3 separate regions of the Homo sapiens genome follow, and all the other regions are linked to region 1. The links are contacts of gene promoters, found by promoter capture Hi-C in blood cells and fetal thymus (Javierre and others, 2016). All regions are on one chromosome and are shown on one strand. The core of a region is centred on a gene start or on the middle of the fragment in contact, and the rest is flanking DNA. Distances in the headings are between cores, read along the strand shown. Region 1 holds the start of TMEM184C (transmembrane protein 184C). Region 2 holds the start of MAML3 (mastermind like transcriptional coactivator 3). Region 3 holds the start of PLRG1 (pleiotropic regulator 1).

Evidence for each region. The method cuts DNA at HindIII sites, captures the fragments that hold promoters and counts their contacts. A CHiCAGO score of 5 or more calls a contact.
Region 2: the fragment with the promoter of MAML3 here is called in contact with the fragment with the promoter of TMEM184C in region 1 in 1 of 17 cell types (total CD4 T cells); the score reaches 7.3 in total CD4 T cells.
Region 3: the fragment with the promoter of PLRG1 here is called in contact with the fragment with the promoter of TMEM184C in region 1 in 4 of 17 cell types (total CD4 T cells, total B cells, fetal thymus and 1 more); the score reaches 7.0 in total CD4 T cells.

The regions. Positions count from the first base shown.
Region 1 is chr4:147,615,634-147,619,215 of GRCh38, reverse strand. TMEM184C (transmembrane protein 184C) reads right to left here and starts at 1,819. Exons shown (of 10, transcript NM_018241.3): 1 at 1,137-1,819. The coding sequence starts at 1,259. TMEM184C-DT (TMEM184C divergent transcript) reads left to right here and starts at 1,971. Exons shown (of 2, transcript NR_186679.1): 1 at 1,971-2,128. RefSeq lists enhancers at 1,400-1,449, 1,480-1,599. The HindIII fragment of the contact is 5,941 bases long and covers 1-2,125 here.
Region 2 is chr4:140,152,476-140,156,057 of GRCh38, reverse strand. MAML3 (mastermind like transcriptional coactivator 3) reads left to right here and starts at 1,874. Exons shown (of 5, transcript NM_018717.5): 1 at 1,874-3,198. The coding sequence starts at 2,731. The HindIII fragment of the contact is 806 bases long and covers 1,418-2,223 here.
Region 3 is chr4:154,548,879-154,552,460 of GRCh38, reverse strand. It overlaps PLRG1 (pleiotropic regulator 1), which reads left to right and starts at 2,061. Exons shown (of 15, transcript NM_002669.4): 1 at 2,061-2,161; 2 at 3,526-3,582. The coding sequence starts at 2,153. RefSeq lists enhancers at 50-344, 1,728-1,887, 1,908-1,957. The HindIII fragment of the contact is 1,608 bases long and covers 1,818-3,425 here.

The DNA.
Region 1 (3,582 bases), core at 570-3,069:
AAAAATAAATAAATAAAAATAAACAACAACAACAACAAGTAAGTATATGGGGCTGGGTGCGGTGGCTCACACCTGTAATCCCAGCACTCTGGGAGGCCGAGGACAGATCACCTGAGGTCAGGAGTTTGAGACCAGCCCGACCAACATGGAGAAACCCCGTCGCTACTAAAAATACAAAATTAGCCGGGCGTGATGGCGCATGCCTGTAATCTCAGCTACTCGGGAGGCTGAGGCAGGAGAATCGCTTGAACCCAGGAGGCGGAGGTTGCGGTGAGCCGAGATCTCGCCATTGCACTCCAGCCTGGGCAACAGGAGCAAAACTCCGTCTCATAAACAAACAAACAAAAAACTATATGGACTATGCTAGTATGGGAAAGTCATCAGAAAATAATTTAGTGTAAATAGAGAACACAAATGTATATTAAATACAGTTTATGTAAAAATCATTTCCACAATAAAGAAGGGCCTAAAATAGTCATGGTCTTATTATAGTTCTTGTAATAGGTGTTCCTCTGTAAAAGTACTTGGTGGGTTTTATTAACTCCGAATTTAAAGTTCATTATATAATATTTATATCTGAGTTATTTACCTTGGGGTTTTCCAGCTTGTAGTACATTACTGATGTCACAATAAGCATATGACATCAAAAAATATATATAAGGGACTTTTTGCAAAACCTTTGTTGGGTAAGAGCTAATTTCCACAGTAAAAACAGACACCAAAGTTAAAACAACTAGAACGCTTTGATTCAAGAAGCTAGTTAAAAGCTAATAAAATTCAATACATGGTTTTCAAGGTAGTTTATTTGACCTAGTTTCGTCCAATGTCTGAACAGATCAGATTTCAGCAATAAAATTACCTTACTTTCAGGGAACTGATGAATACTTGCAAAACAGTGCCCTTCTAAGCAGCTATATTAATATATTCTATTTTCTCGACCCGGTCCCACCTCCACCTGTAGCATGACTTGAAGAACCGTGAACAAGAAATTAGACAGGTTTATATCCTAAGAGTAGGCTCGTTTACATTAGATGGTTTTCAGGACTGTCAGGGCAGAAATGGGGTAAGGGTGTCTCTTTCCCAACCATAGATGGGTAGAAGAAAGTGTACAGGCTGATGGTGCAGAACCCTCTTACCTCCAGTTTCTGTAATTCCCACACGCATAGGGGAACCGCAACCACTATTGACACCAGGTAGATGACCGCTACTAAAGGTCGAATCCACTGTCTCCAGTTCCTCCAGGTACAAGTGCAAGGCATGTTTTCGCACAAATCAGATCCGGTTAGCAAGGGAAAAGATCTCGAAAAGATTGTAATGGGGAGCCCTGTTCTCTGGCTGTTTTGTCAACTCGCATACTACGGAGAAAAAGCTGTCGGGCGACTTTACGAACAGCTCGAGCCGCCTCCTGGACCGGCGCTGTGTCTTCTGCTGCTGCTGCTTCTGCAAATGTAGCCTCTCAGGGTGCTATTGGCGAGCAGTGCAGGCAACATCCTTTCTTCTCCACCCCGCATCTACCCGGTTGTACTGCGGTGGAATCCCAGGCAGAGCCGCTGCCCTCACCTGGGGATCGCCCTGAGCTCTGCCTGTACCATGGCTTCCAGGAGAGCAGCACAGACCAGGAACCGGCCTCTAGGGACCCTGCACACTCCGGTTCTGTCTCGCAGCTGCCTGCCCACTCGCTCTTTTCTTTGGGGATCGAGCTTCCTACCTCCCGCACTGGCAGGCGTCTCTTCAGTCGATTCCGCTAGTAGGTAAGGCCCCAGGATCTCCTCATTCTTTCGCACGGGACCTCCCCTACAGCGGAACCCAAGGCCAAACCAAGACTTTCAGCTCTTTTCCGCTTCCGCCCCTGCTGTCTGAGGCAGGTGATTCGTCGTCAGCGCCAAACTGGGCCCGCCCCATCCGACTCACTTTGCGCCCTCTGATTGGTCAGCTGTGGGGGCGGGGCTGCAGGATTGCGTACTGGGGTTAGAAAGAAGAGCAGGTGCGTGGAAGTGGGTGGAATTGCCGCAGATGGTCCAGCGGGCTATTGCAAGGATTCTGGAAGCTGCGGGAATTATTTGAGGACACTTGAAGCACACCTACTACATTCTTCTGCTGGCGTTATTCCAGTTTAAAGAAAGCTTGGGTAAGGGGCGGTTACTTCAGAGTTGGACTGGAAGAGAGAAGGCCCATCTCTACACAAAACATCCCCTATTCAATCTAGAGTGGATACAGAAGCCCGCTGGAGTAAGAAGACAAGGAAGAATGGGAAACCTCCACCTAGTTTTCTGTCAGTTGCTAGAATCTAGGGGCTAGGCCGCTTGGTTATTTCTGGATCCTACAGAAGGATCATTCTAAAGGTAGCTTCATTTTAGAATTAACCGCAAATAGGGAATGTCCCTTCTACATTTGGAACTTGTGTTAAAAATTTGCACTCATTTAAGTTTTAAAAAGTTGACATTCCATCTGACAAAGGAGTTTCATATGCTTAAAGCCTTTAGCTAAACCAATAGAGTAAACAAATATCTACTACTCAATTACATATACAAATGCGTTTTATATTGTAATTGTAATTTTCAGGGGGACAGGCACTGTACTAAGTTCATTACCTACATTATGTAAGTTGTTCTGCACAAAAATTTTGAGAGGTAGGCATTTTTCCACTTTACAGATAAAAAAGTCAAGTGGCTGATAAATTTGCCCAGGCTCACTGAGCTAGTTAAGTGGTAGTGTGGAGATAGCAACCTTGGTCTTTGTGACTCCAAAGGGCATTATATTTAAGCATTTGACCTGCTAGTACCTGCCACCTGGGGAATTTCCGCCTAATGACCATACGGATAAGGAGGCTTGTAACATTGAGTACACCTAGCCCAGGAGTCTCACAGAGACACCTAAGGAATATTATGAGCCCCTTTTTTGGTATCGTCTGTTTGGACTTGACTTCACTGCCTACTTCTCAGTTGTTAACATTTGTATTTTACAACCTGACCCAAACTACTTTCTACCGGAAAAATAGGCCTTATGTTTGTTCTTCCTAAGCTTACTTTAAAAATGGAAATTAAGGCTGGGTGCAGGGGCTCATGCCTGTAATCCCAGCAGTTTGGGAGGCGGAGGTGGGCGGATCATGAGGTCAGGAAATCGAGACTATCCTGGCTAACACAGTGAAACTCCGTCTCTACCAAAAATACAAAAAATTAGCCAGTTGTGGTGGCGGGAGCCTGTAGTCCCAGGTACTCAGGAGGCTGAGGCAGGAGAATGGCGTGAACCCGGGAGGCGGAGCTTGCAGTGAGCCGAGATCAAGCCACTGCACTCCAGCCTGGGCGACAGAGCGAGACTCTGTCTCAAAAAATAAATAAATAAATAAATAAATAAAATTAATTAAAAAAAATTCCTGATCATTAAATTAATGCTTGCTCTGTTGTTAAAGTTCATAAAAAAGAAGAATAATGAAGAGAAAGTTAATTTTACTCTACGGCCAAGTATAACTACTCTTTACTTGTTTGGTACACAGTAGAGGCTATCTTGGATATGCCGTATGCGTAGATTGTCTCTGTGCTTTCAGCTACAGCGTTTTTGCTGCCTATAATCTTTCCCATTCTT
Region 2 (3,582 bases), core at 625-3,124, 7.5 Mb after region 1:
AAAAGAATTAAACTACGGTGAAGAGAGAGCAAAGCGAATGCAGAGTCATAGCTTCCCCTCTGTGGCGAAGCCATGTGTTTCCTGAGTTAATAGAGATATTATTTAGTGAATATGTGAAAAAGATAAAGGCCACTTTGCTACCTCTTTTTCTAATTTCTTAAAATTCTCTACATATTTTCAGAATCTGAACGGGCTCTTTTGCTACAGACGTAGTCCAGTTAAATTTTCTGACTGAGACTTGAAGAAGGGCAGTTTGATACAGAAATTTGTATATTAACTAAATAGCCTTCAGAAAAAGTGTGGCAACTTCAATGAAATATACACTCTCTTAAGTTGGTTTTACTGCTTAGAAGTAGCCTCACACCGTATTAAATATTTTGCTGCCCATTTTGCCATATATCCAGTGAATATTAAAAATATCGTTCACTATATAGAACTGATTAATTGAAGAAAAATATAGCTTCTTATCGCTGACATTATGAGGTTAGAAATAGCATCCTGTGCTAATCTGCAATGCCAAGAAATGAAGATGGTTTAAATCAGATCTCATGACTAATGCATAAGATCCAAAGTTCTTTTATTCCTGGCTATTTTAGAAAACTGGGGTGTATTTTTACCCTAAAAACTAATTCTTAAGATTTATTGAAATAATACAAAATGACTTATAATTAACATCTCACAATCAAGATTTATAGTTTACTGATTATTAGAGAAATAATAATTTCTCCATCTTAATTTTTAAAAATATGTATATGCAATGGTTTAAGTCCATATTCAAGAATATTTGATCCTTAGTTGTTATTTTTGTTTTTAGATAATATCGGGAAAGATAATGTGCTTTAATAAAATGGAAAGTTTAGATTGATTTCTGCAGTTGCTAGTCCATTTTAATTGTACTTATTGTGAATTCATTGAAATGGAAAGAAATATATCCAGCAATAAAGTAGGCCTGTTATTTTTGCTTGTTTTTGTTTTGGTCATGACAAACTGTGAAATGCTGTGTTTTTTCTATAGTTCTAGTCTATGAAATCTGCAATCTTTCCACTTGATTTACGAAGGACCTTAATTACTGCTGTCATTAGCACCTAGTGTTCAAAACAGTCTGTTTAAATGTACTGTTAGTCTCACCTCCAAGTCCCTGCTTGCTTTATTTTTTTCCAAGGGTAAGTAAAACAATAATTGACTTAGTAACAACAATCATTATGTACAGTGAGTTAAATATTACACATTTTTGATGCCTATTTCTATTTATTTAGAATTTGGTATTTGTGTGTTCAGTCTGGCCTAGACTTGGAACAAGTGTCCGTAAGTAGCGCTGTTACTAGCGCAGACTTATTACCTGGGTTTTAAAAACAAGTCACTCATTTGCCTTTTTCTTTCCACATGGATAGGGATGACAGACAACTGCTGTAAAGCTTCAATGTTTCTGCCTGGTCATGCACAGTTCTGCAATATAATGCATAAATGTATAACAACAACTTGGGATCGCTTGATACTTTCCTTGGAATAAGGAAACCCTACCAGGCGCGTCCCCGCGCACGCGCGCGCGCATACACAGACACACACACTCACACACGCTCTCACGCACACACACAGGTCAAAAGTTGATTTATTTCTGAGATCCCCCCAGAATCTTTCTTCTCTCCGTCGCCGACGGCTCTGGGCTTCTCGGCGGGGCGGTAGTGTGGTTGGGGGCGTAGGAGGGGCGCCGGGCGCCGAGGCGACGGAGACGGGAGCCGGGTGCTGGTGCGTGCCGCGCCCGCTCCTGCCGGGTGAGAGTCCGGGCCGGGTTTTGCGCCGTGTCCGCGGGCCTGTCTCACGGCCTCCAGCCGCCGCCGCTGCCGTGTTTACTGAGCTCGCGCGTCCTGATATCACTCCGCTGGCATGGAGGAGGAGGAGGAGGTGGAGGAGCGAGAGGAGGAGGAGGAGGCGGCGGCGGCGGCGGCGGCGAGCAGTTGATCATTGTGATGGTGGCAGGAGCAGCGGCGGCAGCGGCAGCCCAGCCGAGCGTTAGGTGCTGCTCTCTGCGCGGCGTTTTGCAAAGGACTTCACCGATCTACTTTTGCAGTCGCCTCGGACTGTCCATGTGTTTACTTCCCCCAGCCCGAGGATTCGATATCTAGGTTCCTGTGAAATGCAACTGAGCAGCCAAAGTACTTTGAGAACACGGGGCGGCATAAACACCAAAACTTTTTTGTGGAAGGAAAATGCAATAAGCAAGCTTGCCGTTTTCCGATGCGGTGTGGAGTGAGTGTGTGTCGCGCGTGTCCGCACTGGAGGCATATGCTTGTGTGTGTACATGGGGTGTGTTTTTCGGTATGTAGGGAGAAAATGCTTGCCAACCACCGGAAATCTCCTGGAATTTATTAGAAAATAATGGATTATAAAAAGAAGGCAAGCAAGGAGCGGATCTCCCCTTGAGTTGCAACCCGATTTGCTGCTGGCTCAGTTTGTTGTGATTCTTTTTGTTGATAGGTGTCTGATGGTATTCCGATAACGTTCCCCCCTTTTCTTCCCCTTGAGCTTTTACAGTTTAAAAAAAGGAAACAAAAACCACCCCAAAATCTCCCCCCCCGTTTTTTTCGCCCCGTCGGGATCGCCGTTTCCATCCATGTGCTTGCGTCTCCCCCGCGTTCCACTTAAACTATTTTAATCCTTGGACCCAAGGAGGAGGCTGATAGGGGGGTGGATAAAAAAAGTTCTTCCAAAATAGTGTGCCCGGGGAGCAGGATGGGGGATTTCGCAGCCCCCGCTGCTGCCGCGAATGGCAGTAGTATTTGCATCAACAGTAGCCTGAACAGCAGCCTCGGCGGGGCCGGGATCGGTGTGAATAATACTCCCAATAGTACTCCCGCTGCTCCGAGTAGCAATCACCCGGCAGCCGGTGGATGCGGCGGCTCCGGGGGCCCCGGCGGCGGTTCGGCGGCCGTTCCCAAGCACAGCACCGTGGTGGAGCGGCTCCGCCAGCGCATCGAGGGCTGCCGTCGGCACCACGTCAACTGCGAGAACAGGTACCAGCAGGCTCAGGTGGAGCAGCTGGAGCTGGAGCGCCGGGACACCGTGAGCCTCTACCAGCGGACCCTGGAGCAGAGGGCCAAGAAATCGGGCGCCGGCACCGGCAAACAGCAGCACCCGAGCAAACCCCAGCAAGATGCGGAGGCTGCCTCGGCGGAGCAGAGGAACCACACGCTGATCATGGTGAGGGCGCACGGGCAGCGGGCTTGCGGCGCGCGTTGGGGGTGGTGGTGGTGGTGGGGGGCGCGTGGAGCTTCTTACATGGGGGTACAAGGGTCTGATTTGCACGGTGGGTGAGGTGGGCTGAAGCCTAAGGGTTAACGTCAACTTTTCTTAGGGAAAAAGCTGCCGTCGTCGCTACCTGTTAATCTGTCAGGGTTGTCAGATTTGGGGAGGAGGGGGCGAGAGGGGAGAAGCCAGTCACGACTGCGAGGGGCGGAGGGAGCCTAGAGGAGCGTCGGAGTGAGGTGCTGGAAAAGTTTCCCCCCTTCCCTTTCTTAAGATACCGATTTGAAAGAGTGAACCCCTGAGTTGAAACCTTGCTCCTCCTCTTCGCCGCTCCCCACC
Region 3 (3,582 bases), core at 812-3,311, 6.9 Mb before region 1:
TGTATTGGTGAGTTTAAAAAATCTTGCCTAAAGAAGGAGGGCTTTCCTTAAAACTTGTATTCTTGGTTTTACACAGACATAATACTAATAATTTATATTAATAAGTTACTTGCCGTGTCTGCTTTAAGGACAGCCCTGAGGGCCCGTACAAAGAGCAGTGGTGACACCTGCTGTTCAAATAAGGCAGCTTCGGGTGTCAGCCAGGCCATGTGTGTATGACGGAGCCTTTCAGGAATCCAATTAAACTTGTGGATCCTTTCTCCAGAAAATAAAACATATTCCCATATAAATACAAAATTTTCCTACAATATACATAATTCATGAATCCCTGAACTAAATAATAGGGTCACTTGAGTTCTATATTTATCTAAAATATTGTAAACTTTCAAGGGGATGACATCATTCTATAAATTCACGACAGTGTTTTAAAAGGAGCAAATTCGAGGCAATTTACCTCAATCATTACCATGTTGTTATTGAGAAATTAAATTAATGTCTCCAGGATGATTAAATATGTAAAAAGTTAATAGATCCAACTAGACAATTAATATATTGCCATATATATTAGTCTTGCTTAGGTTTCTATGGTTTTATTGTCATTTCAAATCATGTTATTTTCTATAGTTATTATTAATAGGTGAGTATATTATTTAGTTCATCAAGTATATATTTTACAATTATGGTATTTTCTTGCAAGGAAATACCATCACCTGCCACCTTTACAGAAAAGCAATTCTTAGGCCAAACTCACAGTTAAATTCAGAGATGCTGTATCTTCAAGTAAAAACATGACCTTAAGGCAGGGCTCAGTGGCTCATGCCTGTAATCCTAGCACTTTGGGAGGCCGAGGCGGGCGGATCACCTGAGGTCAGGAGTTCAAGACCAGCCTGGCCAACATGGTGAAACGCTGTCTCTACTAAAAATACAAAAATTAGCCGGGCATGGTGGCGGGCGCCTGTAATCCCAGCTACTCCAGAGGCTGAGGCAGGAGAATAGCTTGAACCTGGGATGCTGAGGTTGCAGTGAGCCAAGATCGCGCCATGGCACTCCAGCCTGGGCGACAAGAGCGAAACTCTGTCTCAAACAAAAACCCATGACCTTAATGTTTTTAATGAATTTCCAAGTAAGGTTGATTTATATTGCTATTCTTTTGCTAGATTTTTTCCCCCTCTCAAAGTGTAAGCAGTATGCTCTCAGGACAGGATTAGTGAAACTGAAACAGGGCCAGTAAAATGTTTGTCTATTTAAGTTTGTAAATGCCTAAGTCCATCCATTTTTTTTTTTACATAGAAAAATAATTGGGTAGGGTTGATCACAAACCACAGATTTTACCAGGGTAGAAAGCAAAAATACCAATACTTGGCACAAGGATATGTATAAATAAAAATGGCTAAAGTCTCCAATTGTGTCTTCTACCAGCTTTGAAAAGCTGTACCCTGGCATTGTTGAAGCCACAATAATCAGCAGGCAACTAGGAAATGGACAAGAGCTATGCAGTTTTGAGAAATTAAAAAAAAAAATCTATTAGCAGAAAATAAATATGGGGTTTTGTTATAACTACATGTCAAAATTTTCCAAATTAAAACAGCTATTCCTCAACGTTCACTTAACAAGTGTTTACTGGACTGTTTAAGCGAAATTGTTTTCAGGTGTTAAGCCTACAAGTGTCCAAGTGCTTCTCGCCAGGATTAGAACCAGGAGACACAAAGCACGCAGGCGACCTCCAAAGAGATCAAGGTAGTGGAAATGCCTTAGATAGAGCCCACGGGAGTTTGCTCTCCAGACGCTTAGGTTCTCTGAATAAAAAGCGTTAAGCTTCCGGGGAATACAGCACGAACAACCAGGACCCCAACTAAGGCAGAAAACATAATTCTAAGATTTCTTCAGAGGGACGAGTGAAACCCTCCACCCAGGCCCTTCCAGGAGTCTCCGGCTTTCAGCCTCGAGACTCCGCCCTAGAGGCGGTCCCGAGGAGGGAGACCCGCCTCCTGATCCTAGATGGCCGAGGGAGACTAGCGCGCGTGCGCAGAGCTTGCATCACATCCGCCGCCTGGGCGCCCAATTCCGGAAGGTGCTGCACAGCTGTGGCGGCGGGTACTGCGTTAGTGATTAGAGTTTCTTCCCTGCCGGAGGTGGGATACACGGTAGCATCATGGTCGAGGTAAAGTGACACTGGGGCTCTCAAGAGTCGTTTGTCTCTGGACTGTTTTTTTTGGCAGTGCGCGTGGGGGATTGAGAGTACTTGGAGTCCAGAGAGAAAAGAGGCTACGAGGGGAGCTATTTGGCCAAGGCCGAGTGGTCTCTTCTTCGGGTTTTCGGGGAAGGGGTAGAAGCCGGATGAGAACCCGAGTCGGAGGTTCAGCCTGGGCGCGAAGCCTGAGATAATTCGTCCAGTCCTCGTTTGACTCTTGGGAGCTGGAAAGTGTCCTCGGAGGCGGGGCCTCTGTTGGTGATCGACCACTGGTACTTGCCGCCCTCGGGGCAGTGTCAGTGAGTCTGTGCCCTAAAAGATTGGTAGTCTTCTCTATCTTGCGTTCAGGTCGTCTCTTATTTCACCTCTACCCCCAGAAAAACTTGCCGTTCTTTACATCTTTCCCTGGCATGAACAGCCAACGCTGTTAGCTGGTCTTGTCCATCTTACCCCACATGTTTATTGATTCCATTCACTCTTCTCCATATCCGCTGCAGTCCACCTTAATTGAGACCAACATCATCTTTCACCTGGACTGGTGCATTAGCTCCCCGTTGGTTGGTTTCCTTGCTTCCATTTTGTTCTATAAGTTGTTCTGTTTAAAACGTAAGTTGTTCATACCTTTCTTGTTTAAAACCCTTTACTGACCCTATGTTGCTAGAACAAAATATAGGCTGTTGTAATAGTCTAAAAGACCTTACCTAATCTGGACCTTGTCTACCCTTGCAGCTACAAAGCACCATCTCATCCTCCATACACAGCTGTACTGCGCTCCTTGTATTATTTCAGTTAACTGAACTTTTTTTTACATGACATTTCCATCAGCCTGGTTCGTTCTTACCTCTGTTTTGTGCAAGGCTAACTCCCTTTCTGCTTAAATATCACCTTAGTGAAATCTTTCACAATTATACTTAGTCCTTCATTCCCTGACTCAGCGCCTTGCTTGTTGCCTTCATAGCACTTATCAAAATGTGGAATTATTTTACTTTTTATTTGTCTGTTTCCTCTTGAGCACAGGGACCATGACCACCTTTTTATCATTCTATTGTGAGATTCTAGCACAATACCTGCCAGACACACAGTAGGAGCTCAGTAAATATTTATTGAGTAAGTTAAACTCCGGCATCACTCAGTTGCTAAACCTGAGGTTCTAGCCAAAGAGGAGCTTCCTCCTCTTCTCTGAACTTGACTCCTGTAGCTTGCAACAAGTAGCTATGGTGAGTGGTATAAAGCTTTTTACATATTTAAACACGTGAAGTGTATAATCAATCTGACTTTAGGTTATGATTTGTGTAATTTGTAGATAGGTGTGTAATTACATTCTTTTTTTTTAGGAGGTACAGAAACATTCTGTACACACCCTTGTGTTCAGGTCGTTGAAGAGGACCCAT